2 separate regions of the Homo sapiens genome follow, and region 2 is linked to region 1. The links are contacts of gene promoters, found by promoter capture Hi-C in blood cells and fetal thymus (Javierre and others, 2016). All regions are on one chromosome and are shown on one strand. The core of a region is centred on a gene start or on the middle of the fragment in contact, and the rest is flanking DNA. Distances in the headings are between cores, read along the strand shown. Region 1 holds the start of GPR132 (G protein-coupled receptor 132). Region 2 overlaps PACS2 (phosphofurin acidic cluster sorting protein 2).

Evidence for each region. The method cuts DNA at HindIII sites, captures the fragments that hold promoters and counts their contacts. A CHiCAGO score of 5 or more calls a contact.
Region 2: a fragment that was not itself captured here is called in contact with the fragment with the promoter of GPR132 in region 1 in 2 of 17 cell types (non-activated CD4 T cells and naive CD4 T cells); the score reaches 5.5 in non-activated CD4 T cells.

What each region holds. Positions count from the first base shown.
Region 1 is chr14:105,063,125-105,068,866 of GRCh38, forward strand. GPR132 (G protein-coupled receptor 132) reads right to left here and starts at 2,306. Exons shown (of 4, transcript NM_013345.4): 1 at 2,255-2,306. RefSeq lists enhancers at 525-584, 995-1,134, 2,812-3,329, 3,005-3,174, 3,385-3,454 and 1 more. The HindIII fragment of the contact is 11,012 bases long and covers 1-5,742 here.
Region 2 is chr14:105,352,851-105,358,696 of GRCh38, forward strand. It overlaps PACS2 (phosphofurin acidic cluster sorting protein 2), which reads left to right. Exons shown (of 25, transcript NM_001100913.3): 4 at 2,202-2,327. Among named protein-coding and RNA genes, the nearest start is that of PACS2, 41 kb to the left of the region's middle. RefSeq lists an enhancer at 1-402. The HindIII fragment of the contact is 1,978 bases long and covers 3,535-5,512 here.

The DNA of each region.
Region 1 (5,742 bases), core at 1,056-3,555:
TACCCAGGCTGGTCTCGAGCTCCTGGGCTCAAGAAATCCGCCGGCCTCGGTCTCCGAAAGTGCTGGGAATACAGGCGTGAGCCACCATGCCCGGCCAATGAATCCATTTTCCAGATTAGAGAAGCACCACATGTTCCTGGGATGGACATTTCAATAACAGGATCTAGCATGACCTCACCCAGCCACTGTCCCTGGAGCTCTCTGGCCTGCAAGTTGCTGTGCTCCTCCAGTCTTTTAAAATCTATTTTGTAACTTTTTTTTTTTTTTTAGGCTGAGTTTCTCTCTCGTTGCCCAGGCTGGAGTGCAATAGCACGATCTTGGCTCACTGCAACCTCTGCCTCCCGGGTTCAAGTGATTCTCCTGCCTCAGCCTCTGAAGTAGCTGGGATTAGCAGGCGCCTGCCACCATGCCCGGCTAATTTTTTGTATTTTTAGTAGAGAAGGGGTTTCGCCATATTGGTCAGGCTGGTCTTGAACTCCTGACCTCAGGTGATCCGCCCGCCTCGGCCTCCTAAAGTGCTGGGATTACAGGTGTGAGCCACCACGCCCAGCCTGTTTTGTAACTTATGATGGAACTTTTCAGACAGACACAAAAGGACAGAGAAGGAGCCCTGGCCCCTGCCATGTGCAGGGAGCAGTTCCTCATTCCAGCCCATTTGTCAAAAACAGCTCCTCAGGCTGCTGAGGTCTGTCTTGTGGACTATCTGTAATTTCTTTCTTTCTTTTTTTTTTTGAGACAGAGTTTCGCTCTCGTTGCCCAGGCTGGAGTGCAATGGCACGATCTCGGCTCACCACAACCTCCACCTCCTGGGTTCAAGTGAGTCTCCTGCCTCAGCCTCCCAAGTAAATGGGATTACAGGCGTGTGCCACCACGCCCGGCTAATTTTGTATTTTTAGTAGAGACAGGGTTTCACCATATTGGTTACGCTGGTCTCGAACTCCTGACCTCAGGTGATCCACCTGCCTTGGCCTCCCAAAGTGCTGGGATTACAGGCGTAAGCCACCGCACCTGGCTGGATTGCCTGTAATTTCTAAGCTGTTTCACGGTTGCTGGCCATTCCTAGCCATTTCCGTCTTTTACTCCCACCTGCTTTGGCACCAGGCAAACCTATGACCTCTTTTCTGCCGTCACGTTTGAGACAAACCCTAGGGAGGGAAATGTGGAGTCACCAGCTCCAACCTCCCTGCTCCACCACACCCATCCAAAGCCCATTGTCAACTTTCTTATTTTTCCCAATTTGATAGTGTTGCCCAGGCTAGAGTGCAATGGCGCGATCTCGGCTCACTGCAAGCTCCGCCTCTCAGGTTCAAGCGATTCTCCTGCCTCGGCCTCCCAAGTAGCTGGGATTACAGACGTGTGCCAACACGCCCGGCTAATTTTTGTATTTTTAGTAGAGACAGGGTATCACCATGTTGGTCAGGCTGGTCTCAAACTCCTGACCTCAAGTGATCCGCCCACCTCGGCCTCCCAAAGTGCTGGGATTACAGGCATGAACCACCGTGCCCAGCCCCTATCCTCATCTTCTTCCAGGAGCCTCTGCTCTCCCACCTCGGCCTGGCCAATCTCCTGAAATATCATTTTGTGCTCAGCCCAACTGGCCAGTCTTCAGTGGTCAGTCCCAGTCCCTTGCAGTGGTACAGACCCACGTCATGCACTTGACAGAAGGTATTGGGCCCCCCGCCCCGCTGTGCCTGGTGCGCCGAACGCCACTCCAAAGGCCGGTGACCTGCCCAGCTCCAGGATCTTGTCACGTGACTGGGCCAACTGCCACTCACCGCAGCACAGCCCCCACTGCCCTGCTTTTCCCTCTGTGTAACCCCACAAGCAGCACAGGCCCCACAGAGAGAAGCCCAGCCCTTCAGTGCCCCCCGACCAATCACGGAAGCAAGTGGCCAAGGAGAGATTCCAGGGACAAAGTCCAGCCCCCTGACTCACCCCCATCTGGACCAGTAGCCAGGGAAGCCTTTTCCAGAAGAAAGTCTCCAGGAAGGTGGCGGTGACAAAGATACAATGGAAACTGTTGTCCCTCTCCCCCAAATCCTCCGGCCCCATCACATCTGTGGTCACTGGGGGTCCTGGGTTCTCTCGGGAGGGACCCCAGATTAAGAACCCTCAACAAAGCCTCCATCTTTACCAACAAATCACCTTTGCCTTCAGATCCCCCTCTGCCCGCCTCCAGCTCCCAGCCCCCAGCCCCATCCCAGAGCCTGGCCCCCCAGGCCCACTCCCCAGCACGCAGAGCCCAGCGACTTACCCAGGGCCCCGCCTGCGTGGCTAGCCTCGCACCCCTCCCTGCAGTCCTAGCTGAGGTTTCAGGAAGTAGCAGGGGTCTAATTATGTTCTGTCTAGAACTCCCCTAACCACAAACAGGGCTGAGCTAGGGGTTAGCCAACCGGGCTGGGGTATCTTACTGGTGATGACAGCATGGCCTCGTCACCTTCCTGAGGGAGGGAGTGGCAGGAAACCCCAGTCTTACCTCTTTTAGCAATAGCAGCACTCAGAGCCAGGCTCCACTCACTCAGGAGCTCCCAGGCAGGTGCTGGGGCCTGGCGCGGCACAGCGGCTGTCCGTGTGTCCCCAGACAGGCAAGGCAGGACAGGGGTCCTGGAAAGGCTGCAGGGAGGGGTCCTGGAAAGACAAAATCCAGCTCCTCTGCAGCTCAGGCCTGGTGTTGCCCACTCTCGGGCCAGGCAAGCACGGAGCAGGGTGACTTCCCAGAGGCTGTGTCCTCCCAGGAGTCCCTGTCCGGGGTGCCAGGAGTAGAGAGGCTGAGTGCGCCCACTGCAGCCCCGGGACCAGGATGGCACCTGCATGTCCTGGAAGGCTCGGCACAGCCACTGCACACAAGCACCCTCCCCTCCCCGCCTCCCTCTTCCTACATGGGGCAGGGCCGTGTGGGAAGAACAGCCTACTGCACACTCCACATTCCTCCCCCAGCCCTACCTCAACCCCTCCTGCATCCAGAACCAAGCCTGGCCTGGCCCAGGAGCCCTGCGGGTGGGCTTCTCTGTGAGGGGCCCTGTGGGAACTGGAGGGTGGGCAGGCAGGGTTGCCTGGGACAGTCCCCCTCACTGTGGGGCTTCCGGCCATGATGGGCCCAGTTTCCTTGGACAAAGCCAGCTGGCTGTGGACAGCACCTACAACTCCACTCACCTCCAGGCTGCTTCTGAGTTTCAGGGCACAGACCCACCCTGGTGCCCACTCCCGAGCCTGCCAAGCTCCATCCAAGCCAGGCTCTTTCAGCAGTGGGGACAGGGCCGGGCTGAGGGAAGGAGCTGGGGACCACAAATGTCTCCAAGCGACACTGCCCAGCACCGCAGCAGGGACGGTCACTGAGCGAAGAAGCCGCCATCCTGGGTGGGTACACCCACGGCCAGGAGAGGCCGGTGGAGGCCGAGCCCCCAGTCTACACTTTCCCCCAGACACGTGGATCACAGCTGCCCCCTGCTGCAGGGCCGCATGGCTGGAGGCTGCCTCCGAACAGCGATTTCAGAGGGTTTTGTGTGGGTGGCAGTGGAGTCCCTGGAAAGCTGGGCTTTCCCATTGCCCTGGCGGGGAGGCGCAGGTCTCAGGGCAGGGCCTACCTTGGCTTTCCAGAAACACTTGCCCAGGGGACAGTGATCCTCTAGGGGATCTGGTGCAAACACACGCCTCCACAGGCCACTGCTCATGGGGTCACTGGCCTCCCGGGTCTTTGGGCCAGGGCAGCCCCACCCTCGGAGCAGCAATAGACGAAGCCCACATCAGGCCAGTGGGGGTGATGGCCAGGGACAGCTGTGGGTTCCTGTCGCTGGCCCCAGCAGCCTCCTAGGACCTGCCCCGTCCTGCGCCCCACTGGGTGGTCTGTCACGTTCACCAGGCCTCCTCTGCGCCCCCGGTGAGGGGTCCAGGAGTGACATGCGGACCCGGCTCAGGCCATTGTCACCCTCCATGCCTTCTGGCCTTTGCCAGGCAGTCCGGGAATAGCCGATTCAAGTGAGGTCAGTTGAATCCTCTCTTTGGGTCCTTCACTGGGGTCTGGGAAAGGAAAGTTGGGTCCCTTGGGTGGCAGGAGCTGTGGGTATGAACTGGGGGGTTGGCAGCCGTGTACCGGCTCCCCTGCCCCTGCCAGGTGGAGAAGCCAGGCTGGGGTGGAGGGCAGGCAGGAGCCTGGGAGTCCAAACACTGACAGCCTGGGGGTGTGGACTGGCCCTGCCTATTCCCACCGGGCCTTCGGGACCAGTGGAGGCTGCCCCGGGCTGTGCGGCACCTGGGGTGTTGTCTCTGAGAAGCCCGTCAGGGAGATGGCTCTCCCTGCTCTGACCCCAGCAAAGCGATTCATACCCAGAGAATCCCTCACCAACAGGAGAGCAGGTTTCAGACAGGAAGTCACCCGAACATCCCACGGCTGAGTCACGTGCCAGAACAGCTCCCTGCGGCCCAGACACAGCAGTGGTGAGGTCCAAGCTGCAGACATGGGGTACAACTTCACATCCCGATGTGTGCACCAGAAACCGCCCTGCTGTCCGGTGGGTTCACCAGCCGTTCTCCTGGCCTGTCTGGACCCTGCAGAAGCCAAAGCTGGTGATTGCTTGCTAATTTGTCCAGTCAGTCTGGGAAGGCCTGGGCCCAGGGGGAGACAAGGCCAGGAATAAGGGAAGGGAGGGTCAGAGCAAGAAATGTCCAGGGGGCAAAGTTGGAAGGAGCTGGAAAGATGGGACGAGGGACCCAAAGAGCCCCTGTGCATGGGGCCAGTGTGGTCTGCTCTACCTCCCGGGCAGACACAGGGCCTTGCTCTTGTCTGGCCCTAAAAAACCCTGAATGGCCAGCTCTGGCCTTCCCCACCTGGTGCATCTGGAGCAGAAGTTCCCAAGGGCTACCTTGCATGTGGGGTGCGGCTGTCCCCCAAGCCAGGTGTGACCACGCTGTGGGGGCTTGTGGGGCTGCTCCTCTGGTGACGGCGGCAGGGTTGGGTCGGGGGCCTTTGCTCTATAACTGTAGAGAGACAGTGGCCGGAAGGGTAGGCTTTGAGAGTGGGGGCCCCAGGCCTCCCAGCCTCCCAGGAGGACAGGTGTGGCGGGCAGATGCCCAGATCCCTGTCGGTCCCGTCGCCCAGGCTGGAGTACAATGGTGCAATCTCGGCTCATGCAACCTCCGCCTGCCTGGTTCAAGTGATTCTCCTGCCTCAGCCTCCCAAGTAGCTGGGATTACAGGTGTGTGCCACCACACCCAGTTAATTTTTTGTATCTTTTAATAGAGATAGGGTTTCATTATGTTGGCCAGGCTGGTCTCGAACTCCTGACCTCATGATCTGCCTGCCTCAGCCTCCAAAAGTGCTGGGATTACAGGCGTGAGCCACCACGCCTGGCTTTTTTTTTTTTTTTTTTCGAGACGGAGTTTTGCTCTTGTTGCCCAGGCTGGAGTGCAATGGCAGGAACTTGGCTCACCGCAACCTCCACCTCCCAGGTTCAAGCGATTCTCCCGCCTTAGCCTCTTGAGTCGCTGGGATTACAGGCATGTGCCACCACGCCTGACTAATTTTGTATTATTAGTAGAGACAGGGTTTTGCCATGTTGGTCAGGCTGGTCTCGAACTCCCGACCTCAGGTGATCCTCTCACCTTGGCCTCCCAAAGTGCTGGGATTACAGGTGTGTGCCACTGCACCTGGCCTTCTCTCTTGATTATTAAGGACTCATAGATTTGTATTTTATGGTAAAATACAAGATGAAAATTACACGAGATGAAAATTACCATCTTAGCCAT
Region 2 (5,846 bases), core at 3,274-5,773, 290 kb after region 1:
GTGTCCCCTGGGGAGACGGGCACGCCTCATCACTGTCCCCTGGGGTGACGGGCCCCCTCATCACTGTCCCCTGGGGAGATGGGCCCCCCTCATCAGTGTCCCCTGGGGAGACGGGCACCCCTCATCACTGTCCCCTGGGGTGACGGGCCCCCTCATCACTGTCCCCTGGGGAGACGGGCACCCCCATCACTGTCCCCTGGGGAGACGGGCACCCCCATCACTGTCCCCTGGGGTGACAGGCCCCCCCCATCACTGTCCCCTGGGGTGACGGGCACCCCCTCATCACTGTCCCCTGGGGAGACGGGCACCCCCATCACTGTCCCCTGGGGTGACGGGCCCCCCCAATCACTGTCCCCTGGGGTGATGGGCACCCCCTCATCACTGTCCCCTGGGGAGACGGGCACCCCCATCGCTGTCCCCTGGGGTGACGGGCCCCCCCATCACTGTCCCCTGGGGTGATGGGCCCCCTCGTCACTGTCCCCTGGGGAGACGGGCGCCCTCATCACTGTCCCCTGGGGTGATGGCCCCCCCTCATCACTGTCCCCTGGGGTGACGGCCCCCCCTCATCACTGTCCCCTGGGGTGATGGGCCCCCTCATCACTGTCCCCTGGGGTGAGAGCATTTGTCTCATCATTGCCATCAGTGTCCTGCGTTACTGCAGATCTTCTGTTGATTATGGTTTATTCTTAAATGATTAGAAGATTTGTATTTGTTTATTAGGTTGAGTTTTTCTTTGTTTTTTCTTTGTTTTTTGTTTGTTTGTTTGTTTTTGAGATGGAGTCTCTCCTTGTCACCCAGGCTGGTGCAGTCTTGGCTCACTGCAACCTCCACCTCCCGAGTTCAAGCGATTCTCCTGCTTCAGCCTCCCGAGCAGCTGGGATTACAGGCATGTGCCACCACGCCCGGCTATTTTTCGTATCTTTAGTTGAGACGGGGTTTCACCATGTCGGCCAGGCTGGTCTCGAACTCCTGACTGCATGATCTGCCTGCCTCGGCCTCTCAAAGTGCTGGGATTACAGGCGTGGGACACCATGCCCAGCCTAGTTTTTCATTCCTTATCTATGATAAAGAGAATATAAGGCCGGGTGTGGTGGCTCATGCCTGTAATCCCAGCACTTCGGGAGGCCGAGGTAGGTGGCAGGAGAATCGCTTGAACCCGGGAGGTGGAGGTTGGTTGCAGTGAGCTGAGATCATGCCATAGCACTCCAGCCTGGGGGACAGAGTGAGACTCCATCTCAAAAAAAAGAGAGAATATAATAACGAGGGCAAAAAAACACTTACTGAGTCAAGGCTATTTTGCTCTTCTATTTAAAAAGATAGGGGAAACTCAGAGTTCACAAGCAATCCCAGCTCTTCGGGAGGCTGAGGCAGGAGGATTGCTTGAACCCAGGAGGTGGAGGTGACAGTGAGCCCGGCTAATTTTTGTATTTTTGTAGAGATGGGGTTTTGCCATGTTGGCTAGGGTGGTCTCGAACTCCCTACCTCAGGTGATCCGCCCAGCTTGGCCTCCCAAAGTGCCGGGATTACAGGTGTGAGCCACCGCGCCTGGCCCAATGCTCCATGGTTCAGTGGGTTTTGATAGGCATGCTCAGGCATGTCAGCACCACCGCAGTTAGGGTGGTGAACAGCCCCATTTTCCCCTAAGTATTTAAACTGATTTTTATTTGTGAACTCTGAGTGTCTAAGAGATACCTGTGAACATCAGCTTGCTGGAGCCCTGCTGGACAGGGAGCCTGTGGTGAGACGTGCAGGCGAGTTGGGTGAACAGGGGGCCTCGGAGGGAGAGCCCTCCCCGCCCTGTGTGCCCCTCGCGGAAAAGCGTCCTGGGTCCCACCTTGCTGATTGCCTCAGGCACATGAGCCGCCACACTGTTTCCGAGTGTCCACAGGCGCGCTCGGCCATCCCGGACACTGCAGCACATAGTCCTTGTCCACCTGCCATGGCTGTTAGCGTGGCGCGGAGCCCTCAGGGCCTGAGCTCTGGCGACTGGCTCACTCTTGATTGTGTTGGGTAAAGGATGGGCTCTGGGGACCGGCATGCCACTGGGATGAACTTGGGGGCCCGTCTGTGGGTGCCCTTCCGATCTCATGGGCAGCAGGTTGGCCTGGTCGCAGGCTGCAGGGTGGCTGGGCCGTCAGAGGCCGTGATGCTGCCTGGGGCCCCGGTGCACCCTCAGCTGCCACTCGCACTTGTGCCCACAGTATCCTCACTTCTTGAAGAGGGAAGGCAACAAGCTTCAGATCATGCTGCAGCGCAGAAAGCGCTACAAGAACAGAACCATCCTGGGCTACAAGACGCTGGCCGCGGGCTCCATCAGCATGGCTGAGGTGAGTGCTCCGTCTGGCGTGGCCTGCGTCGGGCTGGCCACCTGGGTGCCAGAGCATTCGCCCGTGGGAGATGGAGATGTCTCTCCCGGGTCCAGATGTCCAGGGATCAGGTGAAAATGATGAGAGGAGCCTGGGCGGCCGGGCTCCGCCATAAGGGCCAGGTGCGGCCCCAGGTGGTGCTTCCTCTCTGACCTTCCCTTGCCGCCTAGCATGGCTCCCCGCATGCCTGCAGCCGCGCGCACTCCCCTCTAACGAGCCTGTCCTGCCCTTCAGTGGAGGCTGGGTTTTGGGTCAGGCTGCTCTGGAGTCCTTCCCATGGAGGAATCGCTGCTGTCCCCACACCACGGGTGCGTCCTGTGATGGGTTCGTGTCTGCATCCTGCTCAGCACGTGCTCTGGCCCAGGATTGGCTGAGCAGGAGCAGGACAGGTGTCAGTTCTGTGAAGGGGCTAGCGACAATACCCGAGCAGGGCGGGGGCAGCACCCAGAGGTCAGAGGGGTGGCTGGAGTTCCCTGGAGGGGAAAGAAGGGGAAGTACCTCAAAAGGAAAAGAAACAGCCAAGCAGCAGCCCACCTTGCTCCAGAGAACCCAGCGTTCCAAGGAGGCTGCAGTAGGGCGTGGGGGCCTGGGAGAAGACACCCCAGGCTGAGGCCTCGGACTTTCTCATGGACCCTTTCGGGGCTGCAAGATTGGCTCTGGGAGAAGGGGCAGCCCAGGGCCCCAGACCAGTTTGTCTCTTTTGCTTCAGAACTTTCCCCATCGTGGGGTTGTGTTCAGGGGTCCAGGGGCTGCGGGCGTGAGTGGTGCTTGGGGCATGTGAAGCTGGGTTGCTGCCTGCCTGGGGCCTGGGAAGGTCAGCCAGCGCAGCCCCTCATTGGGAGCCGGAGATGCCAGAGCCCCCCAGCCCCTCTTCTTCCCACTTTGTCCCCCTGCTCCTGGGGCTTGGGGCTGGGACAGTGGGGGTGCCCACTTGTAGCTGGTTCCCCCACACCCCCAGGCCCAGCCTGCAGGCCTCCTGTCTCCCAGGTCAAGCGCTAGGTCCCCCAGATCCTCACACACCCCCACTTACGCATCCAGGACAAGTGCCAAGTACTACTCTGGGCTCAGCCCTCCCTGCTACCCCAGGAGATGGGAGCGTGGAGGGTACAGGAAGCAGCAGTGGCGTCCCGAGGCCTCGCTTCTCCGTGCCGCCGCAGGGCCTCAGACAAGCTTTGCAGTCTTCCCGATTCCTTCGGCAAACCACGGACAGCACGGGTGGACCGGGCCTCCAGGCTGCACTTCCCAGGGCCCTGGGACCCCTCTGGTGGCCTGGAGCTGCCCATCATCCCAGCCTCCCTCCTGCAGGCTGAGCGATGGGTGAACAGGTAGCTCAGGGATGCTCTCTGGGCTGTGAGAGCCTCCTGGGAGCCACCGCTTGCTTCCTGTGGAGCAGGAGGGTCCAGGCACTGTGGGGAGGTCATGCAGGCTCTGTTTCCCATTAGCCATGCAGGCGAGGTCCTGCTGATCCCTGCCGGTCCCTGTGTTTCCCATTAGCCATGCAGGCGAGGTCCTGCTGATCCCTGCCGGTCCCTGTGTTTCCCATTAGCCATGCAGGCGAGGTCCTGCTGATCCCTGCCGGTCCCTGTGTTTCCCATTAGCCATGCAGGCGATGTCCTGCTGATCCCTGCCGGTCCCTGTGTTTCCCATTAGCCATTCAGGCGATGTCCTGCTGATCCCTGCTGGTCCCTGTGTTTCCCATTAGCCATGCAGGCGATGTCCTGCTGATCCCTGCCGGTCCCTGTGTTTCCCATTAGCCATGCAGGCGATGTCCTGCTGATCCCTGCTGGTCCCTGTGTAGCCATGCAGGTGATGTCCTGCTGATCCCTGCCGGTCCCTGTGAGCTCCTGCCCCAGGCTGCTCCGCCCACATCTCTCAGTCTGCACCCCAGTGCCCCAGGCGGCTCCTCCCAGCCCCTCTCAGCACTGGTGCTTCTGTGTTTGACGTCCTTGCCCTGAATGCTGGCCTCTGCTCCCAGGCCCCTCCCTCACCTGTCCTCCCAGCCTTGGGCTGTCCCCTCCTGATCCCCGGGGAGAGGCTGGAGCAACCTTCCCCCACCCCAGGTCACACCAGCCACATCGTCTGCTGCTTGAAATCCCATCATCTGTTCTTCACTCTTGGCAGAAAAGCCCCACCCCTGGATGTAGTTCCAGTGCCCTGCCCCTGAGCCTGTGGCCCCCACCCCAAGGCTCCCTCGCCCTGCACCTGTGGCTTCCAAAGCCGAGGTCATCTGACTGCTCCTCGCTCTCCCCTCCAGCATCTCCTCCAGGCCCTCGGGGCATCCTTCCACCTTCCACTGGCAGCCTGGTCCCAGAACCTAGTTGGGTCCTCCCATGTGTCCCCGAGCACCAGGGCGGTTCATGGGCTCCCTGTGTCCTGCCACCTTTTGGGGCTGGTTCCCACCTGTGAGCGTTGCTGGCTTGTTGAGAGTATGAGCACGGGAGATTGCGGAGGCGGGACAGCCCCGAGGGCACAGACGGACACAGGTGGCAGAGGTGGGGGGCTCTCACCAGCTGGGCTCAGGCAGCTGTGCCATGGGGGCTTGCTGGCTCCGAGACTGCACGCCTGAGACGGGGGTGAGGGCATGGGTGCTGCCATAGGGACTGTCGTGAGAGTGGGGTGTCGGTGAGGCTGGCGCCATGCATTTGAGAGTAGTGCTCGGCGGTGGGGAAGGGTCCTTGAGGGCACAGGGTGGGGTGAGGCGGGCTGTTGGGCGGACTCGAGGCCAGGGCTGAGAGTGTGGTGGGAGAGGATGTGGGGGGCACCTGCCCAGGACCTCCAGGCTGTGGGGAGACCAGGAGGCGATGGCTGTGGGGACACAGGTGTCATCTCCCTTCAAATGGGTGCACACGCAGGGGGCAGGAGGGGCTGGGAGCAGCCTGGGCCCCTGCCACACCATAGCTCTGCCCTCACCTGGCACTCATTCTGTGTGAGCTGAGGCCCAGAGCCCTGGACTTACTCTGAGGCTGAGGAAGTGGAGTCCAAGGTGGCCCAGGGTAGGGGCCGGGCCTCATGGGTGCCAGGAGCTGGACGCCGGCGTGGGGTGGCTTAGGTCTGCAGGCTGACCAGCAGTTCTGGCTGGGACCATCAGGAGTGACCGCAGCCCCAGGGCCTGCTGGGCACGCGCCTCTGCCTGCCACTTCTCAGGAAGCTTGAGCTGACTGCAGGTGGTCCCTCTCAGAGGCAGCTCCGCAGAGGCAGGTGTGCGGTGGGGGCAGACGTGGGGCCTTCTCCTGTGGTGTGGCTCTCAGAACTCACCCCAGCACCCGTAGAGGGAGTGTGTAGGGGTGGGCGTTCGTGTGGCCAGACCACCCTGGGGCTGCAGCCTGGGAGACGCAGGCATGCCAGCTGGTGGCCATTGTCTGAGGCTGGGGCCTGTGGGCTCCCCGACAAGACAGGAAGGTTGACAGACCCATGACCAGGCGAAGGGGTGACCTGGGAGTGCGGTGGTGGCTGAGGGAGCAGCCATGCTTCTTTGCACAG